3 separate regions of the Homo sapiens genome follow, and all the other regions are linked to region 2. The links are contacts of gene promoters, found by promoter capture Hi-C in blood cells and fetal thymus (Javierre and others, 2016). All regions are on one chromosome and are shown on one strand. Each heading gives the region's core, a stretch centred on a gene start or on the middle of the fragment in contact. The rest is flanking DNA. Distances are from core to core; before and after follow the strand shown.

Evidence for each region. The method cuts DNA at HindIII sites, captures the fragments that hold promoters and counts their contacts. A CHiCAGO score of 5 or more calls a contact.
Region 1: a contact is called between a fragment that was not itself captured here and the fragment with the promoter of RLF in region 2, in 17 of 17 cell types (total B cells, naive CD4 T cells, total CD8 T cells and 14 more). The highest score is 17.0, in total B cells.
Region 3: a contact is called between a fragment that was not itself captured here and the fragment with the promoter of RLF in region 2, in 2 of 17 cell types (total CD8 T cells and naive CD8 T cells). The highest score is 5.5, in total CD8 T cells.

What each region holds. Positions count from the first base shown.
Region 1 is chr1:40,417,389-40,420,784 of GRCh38, forward strand. All of the region lies in intron 9 of SMAP2 (small ArfGAP2), which reads left to right. Among named protein-coding and RNA genes, the nearest start is that of ZFP69B-DT, 31 kb to the right of the region's middle. The HindIII fragment of the contact is 254 bases long and covers 1,524-1,777 here.
Region 2 is chr1:40,159,795-40,163,020 of GRCh38, forward strand. It overlaps RLF (RLF zinc finger), which reads left to right and starts at 1,593. Exons shown (of 8, transcript NM_012421.4): 1 at 1,593-1,842. The coding sequence starts at 1,606. It overlaps LOC105378671 (a long non-coding RNA gene), which reads right to left and starts at 1,484. Exons shown (of 3, transcript XR_947232.3): 1 at 1,171-1,484. RefSeq lists a silencer at 55-256 and enhancers at 1,265-1,881, 1,369-1,878, 1,882-2,497. The HindIII fragment of the contact is 5,693 bases long and covers 1-3,226 here.
Region 3 is chr1:40,510,550-40,513,926 of GRCh38, forward strand. All of the region lies in intron 3 of EXO5 (exonuclease 5), which reads left to right. Among named protein-coding and RNA genes, the nearest start is that of EXO5, 3.5 kb to the left of the region's middle. The HindIII fragment of the contact is 4,712 bases long and covers 1-3,377 here.

The sequences.
Region 1 (3,396 bases), core at 401-2,900, 260 kb after region 2:
TGCAGATATTCTCACAACAATCTCATTTGGTAGACAGAATACTGCAAGGTTCAAATGGCATGGCAATGGGCATATAAACACCAAATCCAGCGGAGCCAGCATCACAGAGGAGACTGTAAAAAGAGAAGATGGAGCAGGGGCCTAGCAATAATACCACAGATAAAGTAACCCCCCAGAAGGAGAAGGACCTACCCTCATCAAAGACATACTGAGAACAGGTCTGAGATGTGGTAGATTAGAACTCTGTTTACTTGGAGGATCAAAAATAAGAGACTTCAGATATATAGGAGTATAGGTAGTAACCTTGGGAAAGCATTGCTTCTCGGGGAGATGGGCATGGCCTAAAAGGAGGAGGTACCCTTTAGAGGACTGGTGGTGAAGGAAAGAAAGACACGAGAAATGGGAATGAGAATCACAAAATCAAATATACACCTTCTTCCCTCTTCCAAAATAACCACTTCACTAATAAAAGATGGTGCTCTTAATCTAAGAAATTTAGTAAGCCTCCCCAAACCTTCACACCTATTATTGCTGATTGAGAAAAAATAAGACCTTACAAAAATGAACCAAACATGGAAGCTGACATTTGTACACAACTACTACAGGAAGAAAATAGAAAATGAAAATCAAAACATTTCACGTAATGAATATTCTCCCTCAAAAAACAGTCATGAAGCAGAAGAAAATTGTTACACAATCTACCAATCTGAATTAAATGTCCTTAAACATTTGCAGATAAGACAAAACACCTTAAATCAGAAATTCAAAAACTTAAAGCCAAAATGGATAAAAAACTGCATGCTGTGAAATGAAAGTTTACTAAACTCAGAAAAGAAATTGAAGAAAAAGCCAAAATTTTCGTATAAAGACTCAATTACAAGTTAGCTAAAGAACAATAGATTGAGCTGAAAATATATTCGGCATTGAGGAAAGGCATGAAACAGCTAAGAGAATGAAAACTAAATATAGAAAGTAGTAAAAAGAATTAGATGGAAATTAATATGGAAGTTAGGCAAAGAAAACTTACATATATTTGGAGATGCCCAAAGAAATAAAGACAAAATAAATAAAATATGGGACAGTATTAATGTGTTTAACACCAGAAAACATTCTAGAAATAAAAGACTTGGATATAATATGGAAAGAGCCCACTGTGTGTCTGGGAAAATTGACCCAGAACAGTCAACTTTAAAACATATCCCAGCAAATCTACAGACTTTAAAGAACATTCAAAATGTTTAGGGGTCCAACCTTTTCCATACCTCCTACCCACAAAAATCTGTTACTTAGAACAAACAAAAAATACCCAGGTTGACATCAGACTTCCTAGCAGCAAAATACAAAAAGAATAACAAGGAGAGTAGTATTTTAAAGACACTCAAGTGTATGCAAGACACAACAAGTATTTTACAACCAAGCCAGCCAAGCTATCCTTCAGGTATCAAGGCTGTAAAAAATAAATATGCAAGAACTCAGAGAATATCACACTTACAAGACTTTCCTGGGGAATCTAACAGAAGATAAGCTTCATCCACCTAAGAGATGACTGGGGTCATTTTCATTTTTGGCAAAAGAACTGATGGTGAGAATTGAATGTTTAATTGAGAATCTAAGACTAAAACAAAGGTGGTGACAAGCGTTGCAGAATATACATTATATTCTGACAAACAAATACAACTGAAAATGAAGGAGGAGGGAGAAAAGTTGAATAATAAATATTGTATGGGAAAGAAGTAGAAATCGAAGGATGCAATAAGCTGACAAACCAAATCACGGAAGCTTGAATAAGGAAAAAGGAGACCAAGGACATTGCTAAAAAGTATTACTATGAAGGTAATCACTAGAACAAACACGTGAAATGTTCTGAATACCAAGATAATTTTCTTCCTTTCTTTTTTTTTTTTTTTTTTGAGACAAAGTCTCACTCTGTCACCCAGGCTGGAATGCAGTGGCACAATCTCGGCTCACTGCAACCTCCGCCTCCTGGGTTCAAGTGATTCTTCTGCGTCAGCCTCCCGAGTAGCTGGGATTACAGGCACCCGCCACCACACCCGGTTAATTTTTTTTGTATTTTTTAGTAGAGACGGGGTTTCACCATGTTGGCCAGGCTAGTCTCAAACTCCTGACCTCAGGTGATCCACCCACCTTGGCCTCCCAAAGTGCTGGGATTACAGGCATGAGCCACTGCGCCCAGCTGAGAATTTTTAAAAACAGACTACAAAGTGCAGCAAATACAATAAACACAGTAAAAATCTAATATGATGGAGTTGAGACCAAACATACCAGTCATACCAGTAGGCAACTCTTCTATCAAAAGAAAATGATGTTCAAATTGGCTAACAAAGCAACACTAGTTTTGCACTAGGTACAAAGAAATACAAAGTGATTTAATGTGAAAACCAAGAGACAGGCAAAGGAACCCCAGAGAGGTGGTATGGTGCATGTGTACTGCACATGTGCATGTATAGCTATCTTTATCAGGGTTATACTTATTTATAAGAAGTACTTTTATGTTTTTGTTTCTCTGTGGTCCAGAATAATTTATGTAGCTCTGGTCTTTGAAGGTTTTGTGGAATTCCCATGTGAAGTTTGTGGGCACTATTGCTTTTTTTGTAGCAAATCTTTGATACTTTTCTCTGTTTCTTCTATGGAAGTCAATTTTGGAAAACTGTATTTACCTAGATTTTCCATTTCGCCAAGGTTTTCAAATTTATCAAAAGTTATGCCTAGCAGTCTCATTAATTTTTTTCAAAGAACCAGGATTTCGATTTATTGGTGCTACATTTTTCCGTTTTCTACCTCAATTTCCGTAGGCTTTCTATGGGTTTACTTTGTTATTTTCTAGCTTTCATAGTGGAGATTTTAATTCACTTATTTTCATTGTTTCGTTTTTATTTATATAAGTAATGGAATGCTATAAGTCTGATGGGAATATGTCAGAGGGACGCATGAGCCAACTTCCAGTGGCTCTGACTGGCCAAATGTGAGACAATTTGAACATCAAAAAGAGTAACAACAGTAATGGATTATGACACACTGAATGGAAAAAACAAAACAAAACCATGAGTCCACGGTGATATTTTTTAAAAACCAGGTGTGGAATGGAGGGAGGAAAAGCCTTCTTTACAGAAGAATGACAGTAGTTGTAAAAAGAGCAAAGGATTGACACATTTGCAAAGAAATGCCCTTCAGATTATTTATTAATTATAATGAAAGAAATATAGTCACTACCTCAGCCAAGTGATCAAACATAAAATTACTGACAGAGGAACAAAGTAATGTCATATGCTTCCTGATATTTTGTACTAAGAAAGACATGTGTCACCTCCATAGAATCTTGCCAAAAATATTGAACCTCGATCCAATTATGAGAAAACATGAGATGAATCCAAATTG
Region 2 (3,226 bases), core at 343-2,842:
CCATTCTCCTGCCTCAGCCTCCCGAGTAGCTGGGACTACAGGCGCCCGCCACCACGCCCGGCTAATTTTTTGTATTTTTAGTAGAGACAGGGTTTCACCGTGTTAGCCAGGATAGTCCTGATCTCCTGACCTCGTGATCTGCCCGCCTCGGCCTCCCAAAGTGCTGGGATTACAGGCGTGAGCCACCTCGCCCAGCCCGGGAACTGTTTTGGATACTAATCAAAACAATGGTTATGGCTGGGCGCGGTGGCTCACGCCTGTAATCCCAGCACTTTGGAAGGCCAAGGCGGGCGGATCACTTGAGGCCAGGAGTTCGAGATCAGCCTGGCCAACACAGTGAAACCCCGCCTCTACTAAAAATACAAACATTAGCCAGGCATGGTGGCGGACGCTTATAGTGCCAGCTACTTTGGGAGGCTGAAGCACGAGAATCACTTAAACCTGAGAGGCAGAGGTTGCAGTGAGCCTAGATCGTGCCACTGCACTCCAGGCTGGGTGACAGAGTGAGACCCTGTCTCAAAAAACAACAACAATAAACAATGGTTATATATATGGGGAATATCATTTAGTCTGTGGCTTGTCTTTGTGTGCTTTTTCAACTTGTTATACGGAAGTAACACATTTTAATACAGTCAAATCTAAATATTTTCCCTTATGGTTTGTGCTTTTCCGGTCTTATTAAGAAATTCTTAGCCGGGCGCGGTGGCTCACGCCTCTAATCCCAGCACTTTGGGAGGCTGAGGCGGGCGGATCACCTGAGGTCAGGAGTTCGAGACCAGCCTGACCAACATGGAGAAACCCCATCTCTACTAAAAATACAAAATTAGCCAGGTATGGTGGCGCATGCATGTAATCCCAGCTGCTCCGGAAGCTGAGGCAGGAGAATGTTTGAACCAAGGAGGCGGAGGTTGCGGTGAGCTGAGATAGCACTGTTGCACTCCAGCCTGGGCAACAAGGGTGAGACTCCGTCTAAAAAAAAAAAAAAAAATTCTTCCCTATTTTTGACATTATAAAGCTATTTTTATTTTCTGAAAAATGTTTGCAGGTCTTTAATCCATCTCGGCCTTATTTTTGGAAATGGTTTGAGGTAGAAATCTAATCATTTATTTCCCTTTTGGAAAAAATGTCTCATCGCCATTTATTGAAGAGTCTGTCCTTTCGCCCACTGACTTGTAATGCCGTCTGTATCATAAACCAAGTTCCCTTGATGTTACTCTTCATTTCGGCCTCACAATCTTTGCTTATTTTCCTTCTACCAGGGATGCTTTTCGCTATGTTCCTTTCAGGGCTACCTTCCTCTTGTCCCTTCAGATCGCAGTTCAAATGTCATCCCCCTCAAATCTAGATTGCTCTACAGGCATTTCTGGCTCCGTGATCCCATGACCTCAAAGGGGTCTAGGTGGGCATAGCCTCTAGCCAGTTGTTGCTAGGCTGTTGTCAGGACTGGCGATGCGTAGGCCACTGAGAGCACCCGGAGTCCGAGTGACGGAATCAGGCGGGCGCCCGCGTCGCTAAGGAGTGCGTCACAGTGCGCGGGCGGCCGGGGGCAGGGCCAGGGCTGAGTCACGTGGCTTGGTTGCCTACGCGCTGGTGGGCCGTGGGAAGATGGCGGACGGAAAGGGAGACGCCGCCGCTGTCGCCGGGGCTGGGGCTGAGGCTCCGGCGGTAGCGGGAGCCGGAGATGGAGTCGAGACTGAGTCCATGGTTCGGGGTCATCGCCCCGTATCTCCAGCGCCGGGAGCCTCGGGACTGCGGCCGTGTCTGTGGCAGCTGGAGACAGAGCTGAGGGAGCAAGAGGTGTCGGAGGTCTCATCTTTGAACTACTGCCGGAGCTTCTGCCAGGTGAGGGGCTGACTGGCTGGCTGAGGGCGGCGGGGCGGGGAAGTCAGGGAAGGAGGCCCTGGATCCTCTGTAAGCAGCCGGGTCCAAACTGAAAGGCGCCACCTCCGTGACTCGCCGCGCCCCCGGGCCGGGAAGGCCCAGCTCGGAAGCTCGACCGCTGGCCCCCCTGCGCCACTGCCCGACTTTGGCCACCGCTGGGTCGTTTTGCTCTGAGCCTTACTGAGATCCCGGAGGGCCCTGGCGGGTCCCTGGAAGGGCTGTGCCCTGTCGCCGTTGCCTGTGTCCTGGCCGGGTGGTTGGAGCGCCACTGCCCCCTGAGGGATTGATTGCTTGTCCCTGCCGGGAGATCCTTTTTTGAGTGGAGTGCAGATCTCCGAACTGGTAAACCCGGGTTTTTCTGAATAATCCAGAGAGGTGTGTTGGGGCCAGAGACTTATTTTTGGAGTTAACATCTTCTGGGCTCCTAAAAGGTATGACAGTTGGCTTCGAAAGGCGTCTAGAGCTTTCTGATTAGGGATTGCGGAGCCGGTTGGTTGTTTGGTTTTTGCTTTTTTTTTTTTTACGTTTAAGCCGTTCTTTCGTCTTTTCTGTATTTCTTTGAGAGGATTGTGCTACCGAGAATAAGGCTGACTCTTTGAGTAGAAGAGGATGGGAAGAGGGATGTAGAGTGTGGCCTCTTTTGGCAGTCGTATGATCATTTCTGTGCCTTGGTGGGTCCTAACCTATGATTACATATTTATGGGTGTGTTTAGTTTAGTCTCCATGACCACTCCGAGATTTTTCTGTATGTTTTCAAGTCTTTTACAAATACAAATATTGGCCATTATTATTTCTGCTTCCAATGTTTGTTCTGTCAGGTTTCAGAGGCACCCATCAGCTCCTTATCTGTTGTACCTTAGAAAATGCAAAATAATCGTGGCATGTTGGTACTTGGAGTCTAATAAGTAGTCCAGTATGCTGAATAAATTGCGGCGTTCTAAAATAATAATTTTGGGGGGCAATTTGCTCTGTTGGTCCGGAGTAGAATAAAAGTTAGCTTGCTTGATTGCTTTTCTTCCCTCTCTCTGCCGAGGCAGAAGCACCTCATCTCTCTGAATGGAATTTTGTCCTTACTAATCTTTTCCGTGGATTGTACCACTCCAATTTTTGTGTGTACAACCTGCAACATTGCCCTGTACTATTAAATGTTAACGTGTTGTTGTTCTCTGCTTCCTTAGTAGTAGTCATCCCTGTTTAGTAAGCTCATTTATTTTACAGATTTTTACTGACTTCATAGGATAGTGCCAGGGACTTTACCAAGTGCTGGGGAAACATGAGTAAGACAGCACTTAGCCTTGATGAACTTACAGTTGGTGGGAGGTGGTAGGAATGACAGTATTTCCAG
Region 3 (3,377 bases), core at 564-3,063, 350 kb after region 2:
TTCTCAATGTTGTATGTAAAACAAGTAGGAACTCCATACATTTCAGGAGCTTCCTCTCTCTTTGGGGAGTTAATGTGTACACAGGAAATAGTCTAACTCTATGCTGTTCAGTAGAGCTTTCTGTGATCAGGGAATGTTCTGTATCTGTGCCTTATCTGTATCCACCAGCCAGATGTAGCTACTGAGCACTTAATATATGGCTAGTGCAACTGAGATGTGAATTTTATTTTATTTTAATTAAATTTAAGTAGCCACATATGGCTAGTGGCTACTAATGGCTACCATATTGGACAGCCAGGTCTAGATATTTGAAATAAAATATTTTAAGGTTATTGATTTGGACTTGGAGTTCCCCCTCACCCTCACAAATACCTCATAGCATATGTGTTATAAATGCCCTTTAGGGCTGGGTGCGGTGGCTCACGCCTGTAATCACAGCACTTTGGGAGGCCGAGGCGGGTGCATCACGAGGTCAGGAGATCGAGACCATCCTGGCTAACACGATGAAACCCCGTCTCTACTAAAAAATACAAAAATTAGCTGGGCGCGGTGGCGGGTGCCTGTAGTCCCAGCTACTCGGGAGGCTGAGGCAGGAGAATGGCGTGAACCCGGGAGGCAGAGCTTGCAGTGAGCTGAGATCCCGCCACTGCACTCCAGCCTGGGTGAAAGAGTGAGACTCTGTCTCAAAAAATAAAATAAAAGAAAAGAAAAAATAAATGCCCTTTAACTTTAGTTTCTTGGTGAAGGGTAAATATTCTTTCCAATTTTCAGAGACTTCATAGTTGAAATAAAGTTTCTTGAAATTATTTAAAGCACATTGACAGTTTATAACACTTGTGTAAATGCACAGCTTCTGTATTTTGTTACTATTGAAATATCCTGTAAAGCAATAATGTTGTAGGATACTCTATAAGCAAAAGTCTTACTATTGTATTATTTTTATTCATTGCAGATAACTTTTCTTCTAGCTATCTATGTTTTCTTTCATTAGTGACATTTAGACTATTTAAAAATCAGTTAAACACAACCACAACTGATATTAATGACGTTTTCAGGGCATCACTTCTTACGCTTTGACATAGGAGTTGGTGCATTCACCTTATTTCACTGCTTATTAGAATAGCAAGAAGGGGACATTTGGTTCATAGCTATCTCTATCAGCTAAAATTCTATGTCAAATTATTTATTTTCCTGGCACTCAAAGTCAAACACTAATGGACTGGTTGTATCTTGTTTTGCTTACTCTCTATGCAGGTTAGATATGTGGGGTTAGAAGGAAGGCTTAAAAAGAGTATCTTCATAAGATAATTTGCCTAGTTTCTTTTTTCTTTTTTCTTTTTTTTTTTTGAGACGGAGTCTCGCTCTGTTGCCCAGGCTGGAGCACAGTGGTGGGATCTCAGCTCACTGCACGCTCCGCCTCCTGGGTTCACGCCATTCTCCTGCCTCAGCCTCCCAAGTAGCTCGGACTACAGGCACCCACCACCAAGCCCGGCTAATTTTTTGTACTTTTAGTAGAGACAGGTTTCACCGTGTTAGTCAGGATGGTCTCGATCTCCTGACCTCATGATCCGCCCGCCTTGGCCTCCCAAAGTGCTGGGATTACAGGCGTGAACCACTGCGCTTGGCCGCCCAGTTTCTTAAGATTAAAAAATACTTGAAAGACAAAACAATCAAACATAATGTGTGGTCTTTGTTTCCTGGATTAAAGAAAAGCTATCTAGGACATTTTGAGGACAGTTGGGGAAATTTATATATGAACTGGAATGTTAAGGAATTACTAATTTTGTCAGATGTGATAATGTAGTTATGAGGAGAATGTCATTTGGAAGACAGTATTGTGGTTATGAAGAAGAATGCCATTTGGAAATTATGCTGAAACATTTAGATTTTAAAGTTTTATGCTATCTGTAATTTACTTTAAAATAGTTCAGCCAAAACAAAAAAGTACACACACAAGAAGTAAATACAGCAAAATGTCAACAGTTGTTCATCTACATGGTGTGGACATGGGTGTTTGTTGTTTTATTCTTTCTACTTCTCTGTATGTTTGAAAATTTTCTTTTTCTTTTGAGATGGAGTCTTCACTCTGTCACCCAGGCTGGAGTGCAGTGGTGTTATCTCAGCTCACTGCAACCTCCACTTCCTAGGTTCAAGCGATTTTCCTGCCTCAGCCTCCCGAGTAGCTAGGATTACAGGTGCCCGCCACCACACCCGGCTAATTTTTTGTATTTTTAGTTTCACCATGAGGTGTATTTTTAGTTTCACCATGCTGGCCAGGCTGGTCTCAAACTCCCGACCCCAGGTGATCCACCTGCCTCGGCCTCCCAAAGTGCCGAGATTACAGGCTTTAGCCACTGTACCCGGCCTTGAAAATCTTTATAGTAAAAAGTTGAAAGAAAAAAGGAGTACAGTACCCATCCCCATCCCACAGTAGGGTAGTGAGATATTGGATGTAAAACACGTGGCTCAGTGTCTGGCACACAAAAAATAACCGCACAATAAATATTCTCTATTATAGCAGTAAATTTTGAGTTTTTAATAATGCTGTAATAGGCAGATTTTTTTCCCATTATAAGCTAGTTTCTTGTGGAGGGAGAAAATAAACTTAATGGGAAACTCCAGTTTAGTGACAGACACCAATTTCTATAATATTAAGAGGATAATTTATGAAGTCAAGCTACTAATTTCCATGTGTCGCTGTAACATCCTCTTATTATTTCATGCATTAATTTGTGTTAGACTATATTTATTTGTATCTATATATAGTTGATCTTTGAATTTTGCCATACTAGGTTCCTTGAACTGCATTTAAAAACAGTTATTGCAGAGCTCCTTTTTCTCAAGGAACAGTTTGTAGTTGAGATTCATTTTGCTCGTCAAGGACTTTGTATAAAGGAAATTGTAGAAAGTGGCCCATGGTAAACTTCTCAAACATTGTTCCTACATTTACAAAGATGTATATTCACTTAAAATAATGAAATACTCTTTCAAGTCAATAGAATTTTGAAGCAGAAAAGGCAAACCTCAAATCTCCTTTTTTTTTTTTTTTCTTTTTCTTGAGACAGAGTCTTGCTCTGTCACCCAGGCTGGAGTGCAGTGGTGCAGTCTCGGCTCACTGCAACTTCCATCTCCCTGTTCAAGCAATTCTGCTGCCTCAGCCTCCTGAGTAGCTGGGAATACAGGTGTGTGCCACCATACCTGGCTAATTTTTGTATTTTTAGTAGAGATGGGGTTTCACCATGTTAGCCAGGCTGGTCTTGAACTCCTGACCTCAAGTGATCTGCCCACCTCAGCCTCCCAAAGTGCTGCGATTACAGGTGTGAGCCACCCGCCCCGCCTCAAAGCTCTTTTTAAATCTGAAGAAACTGAGGCCAAGA